2 separate regions of the Homo sapiens genome follow, and region 2 is linked to region 1. Evidence: promoter capture Hi-C in 16 types of primary human blood cells and fetal thymus (Javierre and others, 2016). All regions are on one chromosome and are shown on one strand. The core of a region is centred on a gene start or on the middle of the fragment in contact, and the rest is flanking DNA. Distances in the headings are between cores, read along the strand shown. Region 1 holds the start of PCDH8 (protocadherin 8). Region 2 has its middle 27 kb from the start of LINC01065.

What was found. The method cuts DNA at HindIII sites, captures the fragments that hold promoters and counts their contacts. A CHiCAGO score of 5 or more calls a contact.
Region 2: a contact is called between a fragment that was not itself captured here and the fragment with the promoter of PCDH8 in region 1, in 2 of 17 cell types (M2 macrophages and M1 macrophages). The highest score is 5.6, in M2 macrophages.

What each region holds. Positions count from the first base shown.
Region 1 is chr13:52,846,925-52,853,665 of GRCh38, forward strand. PCDH8 (protocadherin 8) reads right to left here and starts at 1,716. Exons shown (of 3, transcript NM_002590.4): 1 at 1-1,716. The coding sequence starts at 1,512. RefSeq lists enhancers at 1-789, 790-1,679, 1,810-2,104, 3,450-3,744, 4,419-4,628. The HindIII fragment of the contact is 1,116 bases long and covers 1,326-2,441 here.
Region 2 is chr13:53,174,986-53,182,126 of GRCh38, forward strand. No RefSeq gene overlaps it. Among named protein-coding and RNA genes, the nearest start is that of LINC01065, 27 kb to the left of the region's middle. The HindIII fragment of the contact is 1,444 bases long and covers 2,549-3,992 here.

The sequences.
Region 1 (6,741 bases), core at 466-2,965:
CACCTCATAGACCGGCCGCGTGAAGAGCGGCGCGTTGTCGTTCTCGTCGCCCACACGCACCGTGTAGGGCCGCACTGTGCGCAGCGGGGGCGCGCCGCGATCCTCGGCCACCAGCGTCAAGTTGTACTCGGCGATGCGTTCGCGGTCCAGCGACGCCGCGGTCACCACCAGGTAGCTGCCCGCGTAGGCCGGCTGCAGCCGGAAGTGCTCGTGCCCATAGAGGGCGCAGCGCACTTGCCCGTTGGCGCCCGAGTCCCTGTCCGAGGTGCTGACCAGGGCCACCAGGCTCTCGCGCGCCGCCCCCTCCGGCACCAGCGAAGTGGCACCAGCCTCCGGCGTCCCGGCTCCCGCCGGCGAGCTAGCGTCCGCTCCCCCGAGTGCAGCGGCGGCGGCGGCAGCGGCGAAGGGTGAGGTTGCCGGCGCGCCTGGGGCGGCCAGCGGGGTGATGGCGATGTCGGGTGCGTTGTCATTGACGTCTCGGATGCGCACGATGACCTTGCAGGTGGCAGCGCGGGGCCCGGGTCCGCGGTCCTGCGCCCGCACGTCCAGCTCGTAGGTGTCCTGACGCTCGTAGTCCACGGGCCCGGCCAGGGTGAGGCGGCCTGATCGCGGGTCAAGCCGAAAGAGGCGGCGCGCCTCCGGCGGGGTGCGGGCGCCAAATGCGAACACCACGTCGCCGTTAGGTCCCTCGTCGGGGTCGGCTGCGTCCAGGTCGAGAAGCAGGGAGCCCACGGGCGCGTCTTCCGCCAGCTCCACTTCGGCCACGGCGCCCTGCGGGAAGGCCGGGCTGTGGTCATTCGCATCCAGGACGCGCACGCTGAGGGCAGCCGTGGCGGAGCGCGGCGGGCGGCCGCCGTCCTGGGCCACCAGCTCCAGGCTGTAGGCGGCCTGGCTCTCGCGGTCCAGCTCCTGCAGCAGCACCAGGTCTGCGCACTGAGCGCCGTCCGCTCGCGTCTGCAGCTCCACGCGAAAGGGGCTGTGCGGCTCGGCCAGGCGCACGGTCTGCAGCCCGTTGGCGCCCACGTCCTCGTCCACCGGCACCTCCAAGGGGATGCGCGTGCCCACTGCCGCACCCTCGGACACCTCTACCGGGATCTGGGCCCTGGGGAAGCGCGGCGCGTGGTCGTTGACGTCCCTCACCTCTACCTCCACGTGCACCAGCCGGAACTGCTCCTGCGAGAAGCTGACCACATCGAAGGCCAGCACGCACTGCGGGGCCTGGCCACACAGCCGCTCGCGGTCCAGGCCGGCGTCCCCGACGGTCAGCTGCCCGTCGCCTTCGCGCACCCGGAGCAGAGAGCTGTTGAATTGCTTCATCAGGCGGAAGCTTGTGTCACCCGATACTTTCATATGCAGGTCCTCGGCCAGGGTCCCGATGACCGTGCCGGGGGCATCCTCCTCGAAGGTGCTGTATCGGACTGTTTTGCTCTGGGCCACTGAGAGCACCCAGCAGAGGCTGAAGAGCTGCAAGGGGAAAAGGCAGGGGCTGCCCCAACGCCTCACAGGACTCATGCCTCCAGCCTCAAGTGCGATCCGAAAGGCTAAGGAAGTCTTCTCTGGTTTCCAGGTCGGGCGTCAGTCTCAGGCTCTCGGAATCACGCTCTTTGCGAGCCCTGTGCGGGAGAAGTCTGCGGGTAGCAGCTCCGAGCCTCCAGCGGGCTCTGAGGACGCGCGGACCCGCCCTCACTCTGCGCCTCTCCGTCTCTTACAGAAGCTGCGCCGCCTCGCGCCGCCTTTGCCTTTATAGCCGCCGATATGCTAATCACCCGAGCCGGGTAGCCAATGGCCGCCTCCCCCTCGCGTCGCCCCTCCGCCTGCCTCTGACAATCCCTTTAATGTGGAAAGGCTTAGAGGGGAAAACAAGAAAGGAAAATTAGGGAATCTTTCTTTTGTTTAACTCCTTTTGCTTTTTCCCCCTTTTCTTGTCAGCACCCTGCATGTAGAGGAGTTGGCACAGGGCTCCAGGAGTAAAAGGAGCGGATGGTTTTGTTAATTGTCGCCTGCCTCCCTCCGTGCCGCGGCTAGAACTAAGTGCGAACACGCTGGGGTTTCACCCCAGTGGCTCCTGATTCCGCCTTCCCCCAGCCCCTGCCAACACACACACTCTGCATTTTGCACCTCTGACGCTTCCAAACCCTTGCAGCCCCCTACCCACAGACTTGCTCTGCTGAATGAGGCTCTGCTTTCCTTCTCTCCTAGCTACGGTGCCTGGAATAGCCTCTCGATTAAGAAGCCTGAAGGATAAGGGAAAATTGATTTTATTCAAATTTGTGTACTCAATTGTGTTTTGCTCGTGTGAGCCCCAGTGATCAGAGCTGCCACTTCCCTTTCAGAAAAGAGCCCCGCGATATGTTAGTATGCACGTCACTGTCCAAGTGGCCTTCTTAAGCCCTGGGAGCTAGCAGGCAAGGAAAAAAAAGTTCCAAATAGGATTTAGCATAAGCTTGAGGAGATTTGGAAAGGTTTCAAAGATCAGACTGTATCAAAGGCTTATGAAGCCCTCGTTAGCAGTGGAAATAGAATGGTGTGGCAGGCGATCCCATTGGAGGCCCCAATGTCTGTATTATTTCACTGTGACAAGCTAAGGGGAGAGAAAGTTGAACAGTTTCCACAGCGGAGTTGGACTAACTTGAATATAATGAGCAAACGCCACATGTATCCATTATGTTCCTCTATTCATCCCCAATCACTGCCATAACTCTCCGGCTAAACGGTGATGGGCGCTGAATTCCACACAATACCCGGCTCGTATTAAAGTGCATTTAGAGAACTTTTTCCTCCTGATGCCTTGTTCCGCCTATTTAGAGGATTTTCTTTCTGTTCTAATAGGGCCACTCTGGGAAGCAACACTCGTCCGGTTCCAGAAGAACAAAATCACAGCGTGACGTTGAAACCTGGCAGGAACGTGGGGGGAACTTAACCATCTGCTTAGGAAAGTGTGGAGCTTCGGCACTGCCAAAATCTGGGCTGGGCGGATCCTGGGGCTGGCCGGGCGCTGCGCTGCCCCACAGATAGCCCCCTCCCATCCCTGACGGCCAGGGAGATGGAGCTCGGATCTGCAACAAGACGGATTCTTAATGATTCTTACTGAAGGGCTTTATTGAGCAGGCTATGCAAATACACACGAAGGAGGAAAGGTAAAAAACAAAAGCCACTCACTGGAAGAAATTTTTCTTTTTAGGCGATAGGTTTGGTAAGTAGATTGAATTCAGTAAACATTCTTCAGAATCCCGATTTTGGTCCTGCTGTCAGCGTCCTATCCATGTTTTCCTTTCCCTCAAACTCGAGGGAGTGTGTTTTGGGTTTTTTTTCAGAAGAGGGTCAGGAGTTTCCTTGGAGTAGGGAGACCAAGCAGGGAGCTGGGTGGCAGGGATGAGAGGTGCTTGGAATTGTCAGAGAGCGGAACATGCAGCTCCAGCCATCCATAAATACAAGCTCTTATAAGACTGGGGAGGGGGATGATGAGTGGCTGGAGACTTCCTCAGAGGGGTGTGTCTCTGGGTTCCCTTCTCCACCTCTTCCACCTTGTAGTCTTGGGAATGCTAAAAGCAATAAGGCCAGGCATCTGCAGCCGCGTGGGGACGTGGAAGGAGGAGCGCCCCCTACAGGAGCCCAAATCGCAGCCCTTTCTTCCGCTGTCTTCCATCTCCCAAGTGCGATTTAGTATGTAGCCCTCCCACCGTCCCCGCCCAAGAGATATTCCTTGGGGGGTACACGCAGTCGAAGGAACTTTCTATTTTCCTTCCGAGCCCCGCAACACTCCCACCCCAACCTGGGGCTGGCTGGTGACCTTTAGCGCCCCTAGGCTAACGTCATCTCTCCTCACCCCTCTTCCCCCGGAGACCCAGACGGGAACAGGTTCAGAACTTGGCTGGTGGACAGCGGCCTCAGCGCTTCCGCTGGCGTACCCAGGGCAAGGTCAGGCCCGCCTGGCGCTGCTGCTGCCGGGCGGAGGACCCGGAAGGTGGGGAAAGTGGGTGGAAATGGGGCCGGAGTCCCAAAGGAAGGGATTTCAGCGGTTTCCGCGAGCACAGCCCGGCCGCGAATGGCTGGGACCCGGACCTCGCGCCAGCGCCCCCTGCGCATCTGCACCCCGCAGTTCTGGGCTGGACTCGGGAGCCCCGCCACGCGCTAAGTTTGGGTTTTTCGCTTGGCCAGAGATTCGGAACTACTTGCAATTTCTACTCAAAGTGCTTCCGCGTCAGCATGCTCATTCTCAAGGCTGAAATAAACCAAGGCGTGCTTGAAAGTGGGAAAAGGAAAGGGGAGTAGGGGCAGGCAAAAGCCAGGAGGCGGGAGGAGGGGTGTAGGGTGGCTGGTAGCAGGTCTAAAGTGTTTTTTCCGCGGCCAGGCCCTCGTCGATCGGAAGTAGCCACGACGGCGGCGGCGCCGGGAGGCTGAGAGCTGGGAGCCGGGGAGCCCGGGAAGGGAGCCGCGAGCCTCCAGCCGCCACCGGCGCGCACAGGTCTTTCCGTGCCGGCGGTGGAGGTGTGAAGGCACGCGAACACCGTGAGCTCCGGGCCGGCAGCGGACAGCCACTCGATTATGGAAATACGATTTAAAATAGCACATCAACGTCCGCAGCAACTCCCCGGGAAGGAAAATATGTCCGGGGAGGTGGCGCTGGAGAGGAGTAGGGGAAAGGGAGGGGAGCTCGCCCGCCCGGGTGCTGATCAGGCCTCACAAAAGCCGCTCGAATCGCCTTGTTATCATACCAAAAGGTCTGGGCAGGCCCAAAGGAGCCCCTTTCTCTCGGTTTTAGCAACTTCGCCGGCAACTGTCTCGCAATCTTGAGAACAAACACAGCTCCACAATGGCCGGCGTTTTCTCGGAATGCAAATGTTGCGGGCTCCGCAAAGCTGGGTTTCTGTTACCGAGCCTAATGCCGGCATTGTGAAACTCGCGTGCAAACACCAAGATTGACATGGGCGTCACGTGATGGATTAGGGCTCCAGGAAAGTTTTCAAAGAGGCGACAATGGGGGGCTCAGACTGATCTGATATCTCCCACAGTTTAGCGGGAAAGAAAATCAGGATATATTCTCATATGTAATAGGATTATCTTGTCCATTTCAAGTTCTATACAGCATGTAATTTATTTTTAATTAGGATTATATCTACCAGGAAAGGGTACTAGACTTCACTGGAAAGTGTAATTCTAAGGATGGATGAAGAGGGGTTATTTTTTAAACTTTTACTTTTTTTTTTCCTTTAAAAATAAGCCCAGGGCCCTGGTTTTTCCTCCTACAGGCTCACCATTGGGTAAACCCCTCAGGGAAGTTTGCAGCAAGTGCTTGGCCAAGCAAAGAACAGAGGAAGCTCTTCGGGGCATCTAATTCATTTTTGTAGTGAAAACACACTTTGCAAAAATCTCATCAAATTCTGAAGCCTCTGGGTTTTCTGGGGTTGGTGCACTAGAAATGCAACCAAGCTGTTTTCTACACTCCAAATTCTTTTTTTTTCTTTTTTTTTAAAGTTATCTCTCTCTGTGTGTGTATTTGTTGGGCTGTCAGTATAGGCATGGTGACTTTTAAACTGTATAGTAAACCACAAAGCAGCATTCTCCATAGCCCTGATTCAAATTCAGCAGTCAGACAATGAGACAATTTGGGGGTGAAGGTAACTGTTATTTAAACATTGATTTTGGATTGATTCCAGTGCCAGATGCTCACAAACCCTGGATCATTTCCAGATCTTGGGCCACTCTTCATTTTGTGTGTTCTGTGTGTCACTCTGGGAGACCTGCTTTACCTGATAAGAAGCAGAACGCAGCTGTTGACTGCAGGATCTGGAATCATCCTGCTTGGGTTCAAATCTGATCATTACACTGATTGGCTGTGTGACCCGTGCAAATTATTTTCTCTCTGTATTGTTTTTTGTTTTTGTTTTCTGTTTGTTTTTTGAGATGGAGTCTTGCTCTGTTGCCCAGGCTGGAGTGCCCTGGCGTGATCTCCGCTCATGGCAAACTCTGCCTCGTGGGCTCAAGCGATTCTCATGCCTCAGCCTCCTGTGTAGCTGGGATTACAGGCCTGCACCCCCACACATACCCAGCTAATTTTTGTATTTTTTGGTAGAGACGGGGTTTCACCGTGTCACCATGTTGGCAAGGCTGGTCTTGAACTCCTGACTTCAAGTGATCATCCTGCCTCAGCCTCCCAAAGTGCTGGGATTACAGGCATGAGCCACGGCGCCCGGCCTGTCTGTATCTTAGTTCCTTTATCGGCAAAATGGGTATAATAATAGTACTTTGCAAAGTTGTTTTGAAGACTGTGTAAAATGATATAATATCAGGTGCTTAGGAACACATGTTAGTTTTTATTTCCCTTTAAAGCACAGGGAAGAAACATCAAAGACTATGTAATCTAAACCTCTTATTTTATAGGCGAGGGATTTGTTCAGAAAGAAAAATAACTCTCCCATTTCCTGTCTGCTTCTTTGCTTTGGTGACAACTGTCTCCCCAATTCCCTCATTCCTCTCTGGAAATAATAGGTATTGTGGTAGGTATATAGATCCCAGAGGAAAGAGACAATGGTCACCTGAGGGTTCCACCAATTTTTGTGCCCTCATGTCATTTCAAAACCTTTTGGTACCTTACTTGCTAGTTGAGATCAGATGTTGACAAAAAGGAGTTCTCAGTAGAGTTTTTTCCTACTCATTTCTATAAAAGCCATGTATTCTGACTGAAACCACCTACAGATACAGATATTTAATGGACAGGAGCCCATAATTCTGGAGGAGCAG
Region 2 (7,141 bases), core at 2,021-4,520, 330 kb after region 1:
GACAAGTTTAGAGGTATCTTGAAAGTCCACTGCCTAAGAGATCTGATGGTCAGTACAAGATGGTTTCAATAGTCAGGCTGAATGGCATATTCTACTGGGGTAGGGAAGTGAGGTGCATAGTCTGGGAATGGTGTTGGAGATGCTGTGCGTGTGTGTGTGTGTGTGTGTGTGTGCGCGCACACATGTGTTTGTGTATGTTTTGGGTTGAGGTCTTTCCCCATAGTCCTGTGTCCAGAATTTATTCCTTCTGGTGGGTTCTTGGTCTTGCTGACTTCAAGAATGAAGATTGAGAGGTGAAGCCAGCTGGACTTCCTGGGTTGAGTGGGGACTCGGAGAACTTTTCTGTCTAGCTAGAGGATTGTAAACGTACCAATCAGCACTCTGTGTCTAGCTAAAGGGTTGTAAATGCACCAATCAGCACTCTGTAAAAATGCACCAATCAGCACTCTGTGTCTAGCTAAAGGATTGTAAAAGCACCAATCAGTGCTCTGTAAAATGGACCAATCAGCAGGATGTGGGTGGGGACAAATAAGAGAATAAAAGCTGGCCACCCCCAGCCAACAGTGGCAACCAGCTGTGGTCCCCTTCCACGCTGTGGAAGCTTTGTTCTTTCACTCTTCATAATAAATCTTGCTGCTGCTCACTGGGTCCGCACTACCTCTATGAGCTGTAACACTCACAGGAGGCTCTGCGGCTTAATTCCTGAAGTCAGTGAGACCACGAACCGACTGAGAGGAACAAACAACTCTGGATGTGCCACCTTTAAGAGCTGTAACACTCACTGCGAGGTCCGTGGCTTCATTCTTGAAGTCAGTGAGACCAAGAACCCACTGGAAGGAATAAATTCTAGACACGGTCCCATTCTCAGACTTACTCAATCTTACTTGTTGAGAAGCTAGAAAAAGAAGTTAGTGGGCCGGGCTTGGTGGCTCATTCCTGTAATCCCTGTACTTTGGGAGGCCGAGGTGGGTGGATCACTTGAGGTCAGGAGTTTGAGATTAGCCTGGCCAACATGGTGAAACCCCATCTCTACTAAAAATACAGAAAATTAGCTGGGCGTGGTGGCGTGCACCTGTAATCCTAGCTACTCAAGGGGCTGAAGCGGGAGAATTGCTTGAACCAGGGAGGCAGAGGTTGCAGTGAGCCAAGATCATGCCCCTGCACTCCAGCCTGGGTGAAAGAGCAAGACTCCGTCTCAAAGAAAAAAAAAAAAGAAAGAAAAAGAAGTTAGCCATGGGACAGGCAAAGGAATAAGGAAGACCTAGCTAAAAAGCTGCTATCTTTGTCTGTTTGTGCTACTATAACAAAATACTTCAGACTGGGTAATTTATAAATAAGAGAAATTTATTTATCATATTTTCAGATGCAGGGAGGCCCGAGATCAAGGGACTGGGAGATTCAGTATCTAGCGAGGGCTCTGTCTCTGTTTCCAGGATGATGCTTTGAATGCTGTGTCCTCACATGACAGAAGGACAGAAAAGGAGGAATAGTTCCCCCATACCACTTTTTCTAAGAGCACCCATCACCTCCTGAAGGCCTTACCTCTTAATACTATCACATTGGGATTAAATATCAACATATGAATTTTGGAGGACACATATACCCCATAGCAGCTGTGTTACTGAAATGATCAGGTTGTCTGTTGTACTCAATGCCATTGAGGCCCTTCTAGACCTCCTTTTCACCTAATACAGCAGTCTGGCAGCTGCTATAAGTGGTTTCTGCTAATAGCTCACAGCTTTCCTGTGCTGCTGAGAATTGTGCTTGGCCAAATAGGAGCCATCTCACCCAGGAAGCTATGAATGCCGCCTTAGTAAACCTAAGACATCTAGTATTTTACAGGAATTGTCGAATTTCTGCTGCTGCTGGCATAGGATGTTAAAAATGTTAGAAGTATTTTGGGGGGCTGTATATTTCTGGCAATCGTGAACTAAAAACAGCTAAACAAAATATTATTTTCTAAAAAGTCTACCAAATCAACTAGAACTTTAGTGGCCAAGGTGTTGGAGACAAGAGAAGTACACAGAGGAAATGATTTTCAGGGCTGCTTTTTCCCTTTAAGGCATTTGCCAATTCCAGAGCAGCAGCAGAGAGGCTGAGAAATTGAGCAGAAATTGATGGCTGAAAGGTCAAGAAGGCAAAAGAGCTCCTGGTGGTCTCATGGGCTAGTGGACAAAAATTGGAATTCAGAGCCCGCTCGAGTACGGAGATCTTGGCAAACCCTCCAGGGTTTTAATTAGGACTTTGGATCGGCTACTCCATAGGAGTGAGGGTGGACTAGTAATAGACCAGCCACACAAAGCTGAGCACAGATTTAAATCAGTTCATTCTCAAGTCAGAGTAAGATGATCTTTCCTTACCCTGTCAGAAGCAAAAGTAAATGCTGTCTTGAAGAAGCTGACGTTATCCAGAATTCCAAACGACTTCTCAAACGAAAGTTTATGTGTGGCATTTAATAAAAAGTTACCAGGGCACTAGTAGAATGGTGAACTAAAACCATCTATACAAAATGTACTTTCTAAAAGTCTGTTTGAAGAAATTAGAGGAAAGCTTAATGTTTCTGGAAACCAGGAGAAAAAAAAACAGTAAAAATAGACTTAGAGGAGATGCAGGTATTGAAATTATCTGACATAAACTTAATAAACATGATGAAAATAAAAAGCAAGGTGGAGAATTTAAGAGAATAACTTTTTAAAAACTCAAAAAGAAATTCTAGAAATGAAAAATAACAACTGACATTAATAACTCCCTAGATAGGTTTAATAGCAGACCAAAAATAAAACAACAACAAAAAAACCAAAACAACAACAACAACAACAACAACAACAACAAAAACCTGCTAAAGAGAGAATTGGCACTCTGAAAAATAAAGCAGAAGAAAATCTCAGCATAAGACAAATATGGAATATGGTGGATAGGCCAAACAGTATGTACATTTAGAACCTGTCAATAAAATTTCTGCTAGAGAAGCCATGATTGAAGGGATAATGGCTAAGAAGTCTCCAAAAATAACGAAAGATACCCAGAGTCCAGAAGCACTACAACTCTCTACTAGGATACATATAAAACATACCATACCTAGCCATATCATAGTACAATTGCCACAAACCAAAGAAAAAAGAATCTTAAAAGCAGACAGAAGCCAAAATAAAACTAATGCGACTACTCTAAAGAAAAATGGAAGCTAACAAATTATTCAAAGTTAAAAAATTGCTTCAAGTTATTTATTTAAACTTTTGAAGAAAATAAACTGTTAACCTAGGATTCCATCCCGGTAAAAAATCATTTAAAAAATAAAGCAAACTAAATAACTTTAGGCCAACAAAAACTGAGATAATTTTATTATCCAGCTGACTTGTATGATAGTAAATACTAGAGCAAGTTCTTGAGACAGATCCAGCCAGAAACAGGGAGAAAATGAAAAGCAATGCAAAAAATAAATATATGGGTAAGTCTAGATAAATAGTGAAAGTATATGATAATGATGATGACAATGATAATGTTTTGTGGGGTTTACATATCTATGGGATAGACACATGAGAAAAACAGAAAAGGCTGGAGAACAGATCAATGGAATGGAATGGAATTATCCTCAGGTCTTTTCATTATGACATGGGAAAGGTCAATAATGCATGTTTTATTCTAGGGTAAACCCTAAAAGAATAGTAAGAGTATAACAAACAAGATAATAAAAGGGGAAATGGAATAATGCAAAATATTTAATGAAAAAAATAAGGCAACAATGAGAGCAAAGGAAACACGGGACATGTTGGGGGAAAATAGACAATGTACAGCATGATGGTAGATTTAGACCCATATACATCAGTAAATGGATTAAATGAAAAGACTAAATATTCCAGTTGAAAGACAAGTATAAACTAGATTAGAAAACTTTATTTTGCTTATATTAAACAACTTCAAAAGTGAAAAGGCAAAAAGGTTGACAGTAAAAGGATGACAAAGGTATTTCTTGCTCACATTAATCAAAACAAAGCTTTTTTGCTAAATTCATAGCAGACCAAATAAATATTAAGGCAATAGACATTAAGATATTAATAAATATTGAGATATTAATAGATATTAAGGTGAGAAAAATTAGTAGACGAATATTTCAGAACAATAAAGTGGTTAATTTGCCAGGGAGTAATACTGACATGACAATATTACGTGGATGTAATAACAAGCCTCAAAATTTATTAAGTAAAACTGACAGAACAAAAAAAGAGAATAAGATAAATTCACGATAGTTTTAGATAATTCTAATATACCTCTTTCAATGACTGACTGAATAAGCAGAGAAAAAAATTATTAAGGATATAGAATAATTTAACAACATATCCAACATACTAACTCAATTGACATACATAAAACACTACATCCAACAACTGCAGTGGAACCTAAGACAAGTCCCAGTGAATTTCCACACATTAAATTTATACAGGGCATGTTCTTTGATCACAGTAAAATTAAGCTGAAAATTAATAATAAAAAAGGTAACTAGAAAATCCCTAGGTGTTTGGAAATTAAGCAATATACTTCTAAATAAACCATGGGTCAAAGAAGAAATCACAATAGAAATGAGAACTTATTTAGGTTTTAGAAGATGACGAATATTGTGCTAAAATGAATACTGTAGGAGTCAAGTAGCTAGCCCAACGAAATGAAGTAGATTCTTTCTTTTTCATTCTCTTTCTGTTAAAATTTCAGGGAATTGTGTATCTGTGGTGCAGAAATGTCATGGTAGGGCTTTTGAAGTGTTTGTTTTGTGGTTGAGTGTATTATAGATCAAATGGCCAATTTAGAGTAGCTTTCTGGGACAAATAATAATAATAATATTAAAAACATTGACTGTTATGCTCAGGTGTAAAAGTGATTATTTCTATCACCCCAAAGATCTGTAAAATGGCCTGAGTCCTTTCATCTTCTTTTGTTTTGAGACAGAGTCTCCCTCTGTCGCCCAGGCTGGAGTGCAATGGCGTGATCTTGGCTCACTGCAACTTCCGCCTCCCAGGTTCAAGCGATTCTCCTGCCTCAGCTTCCCTAGTGGCTGGGATTATAGACACCCACCGTCGTGCCTGGTTAATTTTTGTATTTTTAGTAGAGACGGGGTTTCACCACATTGGCCAGGCTGGTCTTGAACTCTTGACCTCAGGCGACCCCCCCTAACCCCATGGCCTCCCTAAGGACTGGGATCCCTGGCCTTTTCCTCTTCTAATTGATGTAAAATGTTACTTTTCTGTGGATACAATTTGGCCGAGTTTTAGGAGCACAGTGAAGCACTTCACACCAGTATTTAACCAAGCACACTGTGCATAATAATTAAGAATCCTGCTATCTGTTTCCTTGAATGTGAAGGAAAGGGATAGAACAAAATGAGACAAACTAGATACTAGATGTTTTTGTGTGCAGAATAAGGACAAAGATGGTCTTTTAATGAAAACTTTTTTTTAAGTGGGCAAACTTGCAAAAGGTTGTTCCTTTGTAGAAAATATTACATTATTAAATAATAGTAATCATGCCAGTAAGTAATGAAATGGAGGGTGATGCTCTTTGCTTCTCTTTCCATCCCTCTGATGAAGATCATAAGTTTCCAATGCCAAAAACATTAAAGGTTTGTCATACTAGAGACCTTAAGAAGCCCATGAGGTCAAGACTTATGTGATGGCATTAATTGCTGTGCTCTGAGGACCATAGTCTAACATAGCAGGTTAACACAAATTAAATGTCATAGATTAATCACAAGAGCTAAATTTAGGGAGTTAAGGAGCTCATTTATTCCTCCCATATCCCTACCATAGCTTTAACCTCCAAGGCAAACTACCACCTCATCAGCTGCAAAACACTGCTGGCTTCTATTAGAAATGCAAAATGTTTCCTTGATGTTAGGATGAAGGGGCTGCATTTGTAATATTGTGCTCATAAAACAAACTTCATTCTTTCTCAAGTAATTGGCTTCCTGCTGACAGGAGCTCTAAAGAGATATCTGACAAGAGTTTGAATTGGTGTGTTAGTACCTTTCTTATGTATTTCTCTCCATGCTCTGTTTATATTTCCTCCTGTTAGCACACTCTTCTTCACTTGCTAAAGATGAATTTGGATTTCTAATGTCTTCCTGTATAGACTTATTAGTGATTTGTAGTTGTATAGAGTTCTCATGACTATATAACTGTAAAATTTGTGGTTAGGCTAGAACACATTAAATCATAAGGTCCTGGTCTGAGCAGCCCCAAATGTCCCTAGGATTTTGACACCAGAGCAAGTTTTCTTTTTCTGGTATACTTTGGTTTGTTCTGAAAGACTCACTTGGATTTTATATGATGCAAAAGACAGTTCTATTTTCAGTGTCCTGCCTTTTAACCTACTATAGAACCCAATTTGAATGCTCTTTCGGAGGACAGATCAAACTTACTTTAAAGTGATTGCTTTTGGGGGAAAACATCCCAGATTGTAAAATGCTGACACTGAAGTGGTTCTGAGACACATATTAGTAGGTAACTAAATCAGAATGAAAACATTTCTGAAGATGACCGCCATGTTAAAGCAATGATGGAGGTGCTGAAATTCCTTGGTATCAGGGTCACTTGGTGGAATCAGGGCTCAGGGATGCTCTGGATGAAATAATGAGTGAGAGAATTCAGAAATAAGTTTTTCCATCCATCGTTAGAATAACACTCCCTCCTCATTCCCACACATTCTTAAGCCATGGGGTAGGATTACTGGGACAAAATCCTTTCCTATCAAACTCTTTAAAGACTAGAGGAACGAAATCTCAAATATCTTCTGCCTCCTATTTATCAATTTGGAAAGTTCACATTTAAAATCTGTGACTATAATGCAGATCTTAAATATATAAAGTAAAACAGCAGTGTGAGAGACTCAAGTGCATAAAGGCAGGACTGAATCTCATGAAAATCAATTGGGATGCTTTACTAAGAGCATATCGTCCTGGCCAACGTGGTGAAACCCCGTCTCTACTAAAAATACAAAAAAATTAGCTGGGTGTGGTGGTACGTGCCTGTAATCCCAGCTACTCAGGAGGCTGAGGCACGAGAATTGCTTGAACCCAGGAGGTGGAGGTTGCAGTGAGCCGAGATCACACCACTACACTCCAGCCTGGCGACAGAGTAAGACTCTGTCTCAA